Regions from separate parts of the Homo sapiens genome. Here regions 1 and 3 are each linked to region 2. The links are contacts of gene promoters, found by promoter capture Hi-C in blood cells and fetal thymus (Javierre and others, 2016). All regions are on one chromosome and are shown on one strand. Each heading gives the region's core, a stretch centred on a gene start or on the middle of the fragment in contact. The rest is flanking DNA. Distances are from core to core; before and after follow the strand shown. Region 1 overlaps MYCBP2 (MYC binding protein 2). Region 2 holds the start of FBXL3 (F-box and leucine rich repeat protein 3). Region 3 has its middle 59 kb from the start of SCEL.

Region 1 (2,700 bases), core at 98-2,597, 260 kb before region 2:
AAAAACATTTCTTTTTTAGAAAATACTTCTTGCCTTTTTCCCTTGGCTGGATAGGATATTTTCCTTGCACTAGATAGGATATCCAGTACAATGTTGATGAGTTGCTGAGAGTAGACCAATTTGCCTGGATCACAATCTTAGAGGGAAAGCATTCAGTCTATTACCATGTTAGCTGTGGTTATTTTGTAGATACCCTTTATCAAGTTGAGAAAATTCCCTTCTATTCCTAACTTAGACTTTTTTTTTTTCTATCATGAATCGATACTGGATTTTTGTCAAGTGATCTTTCTGTGTTTATTTGAAGTATAATATATTTTTTCTCTGTTACAACAGTGGTTGCTTTTCCAGTGTTGTGCCAGCATTGTCCCTGGGTTAAACCTCAGTTGGTCATAATGTATTACTTTTTTATATATTGTTGGATTTGAATAGCTAATACTTGTAATATCTCTGGATATTTGGATGAGATATTTGTAATATCTCTTATACATATATTCATAAGTTATATGCCATGCCAATTTAACTTTTTGATGTATTTCTTATTTAACAAGTGTATTTTTTTTTTCCAATTCTTTATGGAAGAAGAGTCGAATATTTGGGACCAAGTGTTTTTGGTACTTGAGGTATCATTTTGTTTATCTTAGATACTTCCTGGACATACTCTAATTATTGGAAGTTGAATTTCTAAAATATTTTAAAACAGCTTTTTATATTTATAATATAAATGTTGATCTTGAAATTGTAGTTGCTGTCTGATGAATAAAATATTGGGCATAAAAGAGAAACTGTTTAGTCTTAACAAATTACCAATCACATGATTTTTAGCCTTTATCAATACTGATAGGTGAGAGAGAGCTTAGGGAAGCATCTACAGTTTACTTGGCATTACTGTTACTTGAATGAGAATGAAATGAGCTGATGAAAATTAAGTGTTTTTTTGGGAGGCCCTCATTTCTGTGTAAACTTCTATATCTACTTTTAAAAGCATTCAAAATGCAATCTAATGTTTGTAGTAGGTCATTGAGACTCTACAGTGTGTCTAGAGTCTCTTAGGAAGTCGTAAAATGAATTTCCTTTGATACAGAACTCTAAGAGTTAAGCTTTGTTGAGTCTATTCCTGTCATGGCGATACAAGAATATTTCTAAGTTTTTTGCCCATCCTTTTCCAGCCCTTGTCAGATTGGTTGGTTATTGCTGCATTGCTCAAAAAATAGTGAGGTATAGAAAAGGGGACTAGAAGTTGGGTCCATAGACTTAGACTGTCTCTGCTGTGTCACATAATGTGTCTTCTGCAAGTCAGTTAGTGTGTCTAATCTTTACTTTTATGTAAAATGGGACTTGATGATAGAAAAGAGTGTGAAATGGAAATATTCTGTTTTGTATTTCAGTCTGAAAACTTAGAGAATACAGTAATCATACCAGATATCAAACTACATAGCAATCCTTCTGCTTTCAATATTTACTGTAATGTACGCCATTGCGTTCTGGAATGGCAGAAAAAGGAAATATCATTGGCAGCCGCATCTAAGAACTCTGTGCAGAGTGGAGAATCAGATAGTGATGAAGAAGAGGAATCCAAAGAGCCCCCTATCAAGCTTCCAAAGGTAAGCCACTGAGTTCTATTAATATTTAGATGTGTAACCTGCAGGTGTTCTGGCTATAATGCATATATACGCATTGCTAAAATACTTTGCTTTATGTAAAATTGCACACTAAAAATAACACGGCTTATGGGCAAAAATAGATTTGGAGCAGAAAAGGAAAACTCTGCAACTTTATAACTAAGGTGCTAACAAAGTCAATAATTGATAATTCACTGGAAAGCGCAGGAAGGGAGATCAGTGGGTTGGAGTCTGTTATAGGGGCAATTAAAAAATGTACAAAAGCAGTAGGGTGGAAATGCTAGTATAGAGGCATTGAGCCATGGCAGATGGAAGTAGAGCTCTGAGCCAGTGAGCCGAGAGTAAGGTGGGCACAAGAGAAAGCCAAGAGCCCTGGAAAGCTGGGAGGTGCTCCTCACCTGGGATGCAGGTATGCGTTTTTATTTTTCTTGAAATAGAACTACAAAGCCTCTCAGCTGTGTAGTAGCAGGGCTGAGAGCCTTTTCCTTTCTGCCTAAGCTTATAATTGTACTCTTGATATTGTGGTTTCCCTTGATTAGGAAAAAAAAAAATCACCTATGAACCAACTGAACTTCTGCATTATTCTGATATTACTCCCTTATTTACCAGGAGCATATAAACTAGTTGGTATTTCTATAATAGAAGCATGTATTGTAGGCCGGGCGCAGTGGCTCTCACACCTGTAATCCCAGCACTTTGGGAGGCCAAGGCGGGTGGATCACCTGAGGTCAGGAGTTTGAGAACAGCCTGGCCAACATGGTGAAACCCTGTCTCTACTAAAAATACAAAAATTAGCCCGGCATTGTGGCAGTCGCCTATAATCCCAGCTACTCAGAGGCTGAGGCAGGAAAATTGCTTGAACCCAGGAGGCGGAGGTTGCAGTGAGCCGAGATCATGCCATTGCACTCCGGCCTGGGTGACAGAGTGAGACTGTCTCAAAAAAAAAAAAAGAAACTGGCTGGGCGTAATGGCTCACGCCTGTAATCCCAGCTCTTTGGGAGGCCAAGGCGGGCGGATCACGAGGTCAGGAGATCGAGACCATCCTGGCTAACACGGTGAAACCCCGTCTGTACTAAAAACA
Region 2 (2,700 bases), core at 8-2,507:
ACATCATAGGTCACTGTAACCTCCTACTCCTGGGCTCCAGCCATCCTCTCGATTCAGCCTCCTGAGTAGTAGCCGGGATTACACCAAGCTCGTCTGATTTTTTAAAATTATTACTCTTCTATTTTTTTGTAGAGACAAGAGTCTGGACATATTGCGCAGGCTGGTCTCCAATTCTTGACCACAAGCAACCCTTCTGCCTTGGCTTCCCAAAATGTTGGGATTACAGACATAAGCCTGTACCACTCCTGGCCTCACACTGAACTTCGACGTAACTTTATACATGGCTTCCTAGCTCAATTTCTTGAGAAAACGGGAAGAACGGAGAGCTCCCTGGGCACCACTGCTTTTCAGTGTCTTATACATGGGTCTGAGTGTTCTAAGACATCTTTGAATGGAAAACTACTTTCTCTCTTTTTTTTTGGAGGTGTAGAGAGGAATGGCGCATGATTCAACTTAATGATATTGCACCTAAGAATGTTTCTAACTGTAAGAAAACGCAGTATCAAAAAATCCAAACTTTAAAACAAGTCAACTAGGTAGCAGTTACAAAGATGCCTTGATTTACAAAAGGATTCACCAGAGGTTTTCTTTTCAGCAGCTTTGTAATCCTTTACTTTCCCCATTGCGTTTCAAAAGCTATTTACAAATTTCAGGACTCTATTTCATAAAGCAAATGTCGTTTTTAAAATGTAATAACTCTAATGATAAAAGCCACTTTAGAAATATTGGGAAATACAAATATTTGAAAAACAAAAACCATGTGCAATCCCAGCGTTAATACTCTCACTATTCTGGTACATTTCCTTGGCATCTTTTAAGCACCACTTATGCACATCGATGCGCGGGTCTTCGGAGACTGTATTTAACTCCTCGGTTTCAGGCATCCGGGGCGGCCACCCGCGGGCCGCGGTCCCCAGCAGGCTCCGGCGAGACTCCTTCCTTTCTTTTTTCTGCTCCACCTCCCTAAACCTTCCAGTTTCAGCCACAGATAGTCTCTTCCACATATAGCTAGCTTCAGCCCTCCCACATTCCATCTCAAAACAACAAAAAAAATCCCCTTCAAGCGGGAGTCACATCTCTGGCAGGAAGGCAGAGGCTCGTCCCACAGCAAGGAGACTGGGGCGGCCGCAGCGCGCGCTCCCGCTTGGGCGCGGCCCTACTCCCGCCGGGCTCCGCCCCCCCCCCGCCCCCTTCCCGCCCCCTTGGGCGGGGACGCGCCAGGGAAGCGCGCGGCCGCGAGCCCTGGGCGCCATTTTAGACTCGCTGTTTGTGGCCCAGGTGCAGGAAGCTTACGCGGTGGCAGCCGCTCGCTGAGGTAGTCTCTCGCGGCGCCGGGGATCCCTGAACACAGACAGCGCGGGACTGAGAAGGAAAGCTTCTTTCTGGGCAGCCAGAGCCGCAAAGGTGGAGCCGCGTTGGCGCCCTCCGCGGGACCAGCGCCTCGGATGCGGGCGGAGCGCGGGGGGCCGCGGCTGCGGGAGCGCGAAGCGGGGGGCCAGGGGCGCCTCATGTGAGAGCCGCGGGACCTGCAGCCGCCGCCGTCCCCGGAGCACGGGGTGGTGTGTGGGGGAAGCCGCCCCCGGCAGCAGGTAACGGCGGAGGGGCAGGGCCGAGCCCCGCTGCGACGGCGGAGCCGGGGAGGGACCGCGGACCGTCTGTGGGCGGGCCGGGGTGGGGTGGGGTGGGGGGGGGCGCGGGGGCCGGGGCGCGCGCGGGCCGCTCCTCAGGAGTGCCGGGCGGGGCGCGGGGCGCGGCACCCAGACCTTGGAGCTTGCTTGGGGGCGTTTCCCCGCCGTGCCTGCTTCCAAACATGTCAACAAGGCGTGGTGCGTGTGCGGCGGCCGCCTGCAGCCTGCCCGCGACGCCGCCGCTCCCGGGTTCGCCGCGGCTCCTGCCAGGCTTTATGACCCTTGGCGGGGGCTGGTGACAGGCACCATGGAGCTCGCACTCTGTGGGCTCTCCCGGCGTCGGCTACGCCCGTGCTGGTAGCTTGAGCAATGAGGCACTGAAATGTCAAAGCAAACTGCCCAGGGTGGGGCGCATGAGAAATGTCAGGGGAAGCCAGTCGGTGGGGAGGTGGCGCAGGGAGGAGGGGACGCCCCTGCCGCTTAGCCAGGCGAAAAACTTGGTCAACTTGTGTTGAGCGGATTCGCGTCTGCCTTTGGCGTGGGCAGTCCTTTAGGTGGGGTTGCAGACAGGGGTCAGGAAGCAGCCCAGTAAATGGTCTGTATCTCCAAGCTGAGAGGTGAGAGAGATCATTTTTATTTTGTCGTTGCTAATGATATCCAGTTGAGTGACCCAGATTTTTTAATTAGAATCCTCCTTTTCTAACTTGAAAAAAAAGTAACTTAGTTTCTGTTATCTCTGAAATATTTATAAAAATACCATCAACTATCAGTTATCTATCTATCTATATGACCTGTAGACAGATTTTCGCCACTGTGCGCTCTCTAAGCATTTAGTTGTGAGTTAACCTCTTTATAGTGTTTTATTCTTGTAGTTCAGCCAAAGAATGCATATTAGTTTGATATTAGTAAAAGCAGAACAGAAAGGAACTGTGATGCCAAAATAGGCTTTTTAGAGTTAACTACAAATGAGCATTTAAAATTATTGCATGCCCAGTGTAAAAGTGCCTAATACAACGATGCACACGGCTAGCTGTTCACTTCCGGTCTTCACCTAATGAAGTTGCTTCTTTCA
Region 3 (2,724 bases), core at 182-2,681, 450 kb before region 2:
TTAGACCTTAAAGCTAGAAAGCATTTTAAGGTCCTCTGCATCATACAATATTTTCCATATTTCCAGCCTATAATTTTGCTTTTAGCCATTTCAAAGTAGAAAAATCTCTATACTGTGCTAGTACATCAAGAAGCAGTTCTCAAATCAGCTACCACTGAATTGACTATGGAAATGTGGCTGTAGATACAATTTGCAATTGTCAAAAGCAACCAAAGAATCTTTAGGGACTCTAGGCATAGGTGTAGTGAATAAGCACAGAAGTCATAGCCAACCCACTTTTATTTTCTAAAGCAGAGAACTCTGGCAACCAGTGTTGTGAGTTCCGTGGATGGCATGCTGGCTCCTTGAAGGAAAAGGCTCTTAGACACACTCAAGCTTGAACACACTCAAGCTTGAACGATGATGAGAAATAACCATATCCTTATTCTTCAGAGTAAAATGATTCATCCTAACTTGTTGACAGTAAAGAGAAAAAGTGTGATTCTTAGGTCCATGACAGTTTCTCCAATCATCTATCTAAAACATAGCTGCGATTGATTTATTGAACATATTTACTCATATATTTTTGTCAATAAGTACATATTTTTCATATAGGCACACAGAAAAGCAAATCATATGATCTACTGTAAGAATCCGATGAGGATTTTTGTGACCACATTTTATTCTAACCTCTTTTCTAATAATCTGTGTGACCCTGGATTTGCCTTTTTCCCCCACTTCCATACAAGATTTGCATGGAAGCAGTAGAATCAGACAAGCCTAAAATATTTGGCCACTTGGATTCACTGGGGTCATTCTACTTACTGTAAGAGACAAGAGAACCCGAATTAGCAATTCTAATATTCCTGAAGAAGTCTTCATAAGCTATAATGGTTCTGAGTACCAAAGAGGTTTTGTATACCTGGTCCAGTTACTGCAGGGAAAGAACCTAGACTATACTATCTTACTTCCAGGACACATTGTAAAATAAATCAGTCATATGCAAGGGTAAAAGTTCTGATTCTAAAGTGCCTGCAAGTCTGGGATGCTTTGGGGCCCTGTCAAAATGTGCAGTGGAATAGATTCTAGGAATTTCTCTCTGAAGCTTCCTTACTCTTCCCAGAAGAGAGATGTGTACCCTCATGGTTTCTAACTACCTTACAGATGGCCCTGACCATTTCATATTATAATTATTGTACATTCCTAAAGAGTGTGGTCATGTTACATAGGTAGCTAGTCAGGCATGAGCAGAGCAGGAGAGGGCTCCCCACCTACCAACCAGTAATGTCAGGTGATCATTAGGTGATGGTCAGGTGGTTGTTAACTGTCTCTCTAAAATAATAATTGGTTGCAGCCAGTGCCAGGGAAAGGCAGTCTTCCAATATAAAGAAAAAACCTGGAACTGGTGATCAGTAGCTTCTCAGTAAGATCTCAGGGGCTGGGTAAGTGGGCTCAAGCATGTGCATTAAGAAGCAAAATGGTGGAGTTTAACTGGTATATGACCCTCTAGGGTTCTAGGGGCAATCAACTGCTAAGGGAAGAATGCCTCAAGTAAGCATGCATATAACTCCAGTAAACACACCGTGCATGCTCACCTCCCAAGCGCTAGCAGGCCACTGCGCATGCCAACAGCCTTCCCTAAGGGAAGAATCATGTGAGAAGGGACACAAGACGCTGGAAGTGTGCCAACATATAAAAACCTAAGTCAAAAGTCAACCACACGCTTGATCTCTCATGTTGCCCACTTGGCTCTCTTCCAAGTGTCCTTTACTTTCTTTTGTTTCTCCTCTAAAGCTTTTTAATAAACTTTCACTCCTGCTCTAAAACTTACCTCAGGCCGGGCGCGGTGGCTCATGCCTGTAATCCCAGTGAGAGGTAACAGCATGCTGGCAGCCCTCACAGCCCTTGCTCGCTCTTGGCGCCTCCTCAGCCTTGGCGCCCACTCTGGCCGCGCTTGAGGAGCCCTTCAACCCGCTGCTGCACTGTGGGAGCCACTTTCTGGGCTGGCCAAGGCCGGAGGCGGCTCCCTCAGCTTGCCGGGAGGTGTGGAGGGAAAGGTGGGGGCGGGAACCGGGGCTGCACGCGGTGCTTGTGGGCCAGCGCGAGTTCCGGGTGGGCGTGGGCTCGGGAGGCCCTGCACTCGGAGCTGCCCGCCGGCCAGCGGGCCGGGGCAGTGAGAGGCTTAGCACCTGGGCCAGTAGCTGCTGTGCTGAATTTCTCGCCGGGCCTTAGATGCCTTCCCGCCGGGCAGGGCTGGAGACCTGCAGCCCGCCGCCATGCCTGAGCCTCCCCCGCACTTCGTGGGCTCCTGCGCGGCCCGAGCCTCCCCGAGGAGCGCCGCCCCCTGTTCCACAGCGCCCAGTCCCATCCACCACCCAAGGGCTGAGGAGTGCCGGCGCACGGCCTGGGACTGATAGGCAGCTCCACATGCGGCCCCTGTGCGGGATCCACTGGGTGAAGCCAGCCGGGCTCCTGAGTCTGGTGGGGACTTGGAGAACCTTTATGTCTAGATAAGGGATTGTAAATACACCAATCAGTACCCTGTGTCTAGCTCAGGGTTTGTGAAGGCACCAGTCCACACTCTGTATCTAGCTACCCTGGTGGGGACTTGGAGAACCTTTATGTCCAGCTAAGGGATTGTAAATACACCAATTGGCACTCTGTATCTAGCTCAAGGTTTGTAAACACACCAATCAGCACCCTGTGTCTAGCTCAGGGTTTGTGAATGCACCAATCGACACTCTG

What was found. The method cuts DNA at HindIII sites, captures the fragments that hold promoters and counts their contacts. A CHiCAGO score of 5 or more calls a contact.
Region 1: a fragment that was not itself captured here is called in contact with the fragment with the promoter of FBXL3 in region 2 in 2 of 17 cell types (total B cells and naive B cells); the score reaches 6.0 in total B cells.
Region 3: a contact is called between a fragment that was not itself captured here and the fragment with the promoter of FBXL3 in region 2, in 1 of 17 cell types (naive B cells). The highest score is 5.0, in naive B cells.

Annotation. Positions count from the first base shown.
Region 1 is chr13:77,287,062-77,289,761 of GRCh38, reverse strand. It overlaps MYCBP2 (MYC binding protein 2), which reads left to right. Exons shown (of 83, transcript NM_015057.5): 3 at 1,386-1,601. All of the region lies in intron 2 of LOC124903184 (a long non-coding RNA gene), which reads right to left. Among named protein-coding and RNA genes, the nearest start is that of MYCBP2, 39 kb to the left of the region's middle. The HindIII fragment of the contact is 495 bases long and covers 1,100-1,594 here.
Region 2 is chr13:77,025,716-77,028,415 of GRCh38, reverse strand. It overlaps FBXL3 (F-box and leucine rich repeat protein 3), which reads left to right and starts at 1,257. Exons shown (of 5, transcript NM_012158.4): 1 at 1,257-1,589. RefSeq lists silencers at 1,137-1,186, 1,357-1,636, 1,657-1,716. The HindIII fragment of the contact is 14,791 bases long and covers 1-1,290 here.
Region 3 is chr13:77,475,144-77,477,867 of GRCh38, reverse strand. No RefSeq gene overlaps it. Among named protein-coding and RNA genes, the nearest start is that of SCEL, 59 kb to the left of the region's middle. RefSeq lists an enhancer at 1-47. The HindIII fragment of the contact is 689 bases long and covers 1,087-1,775 here.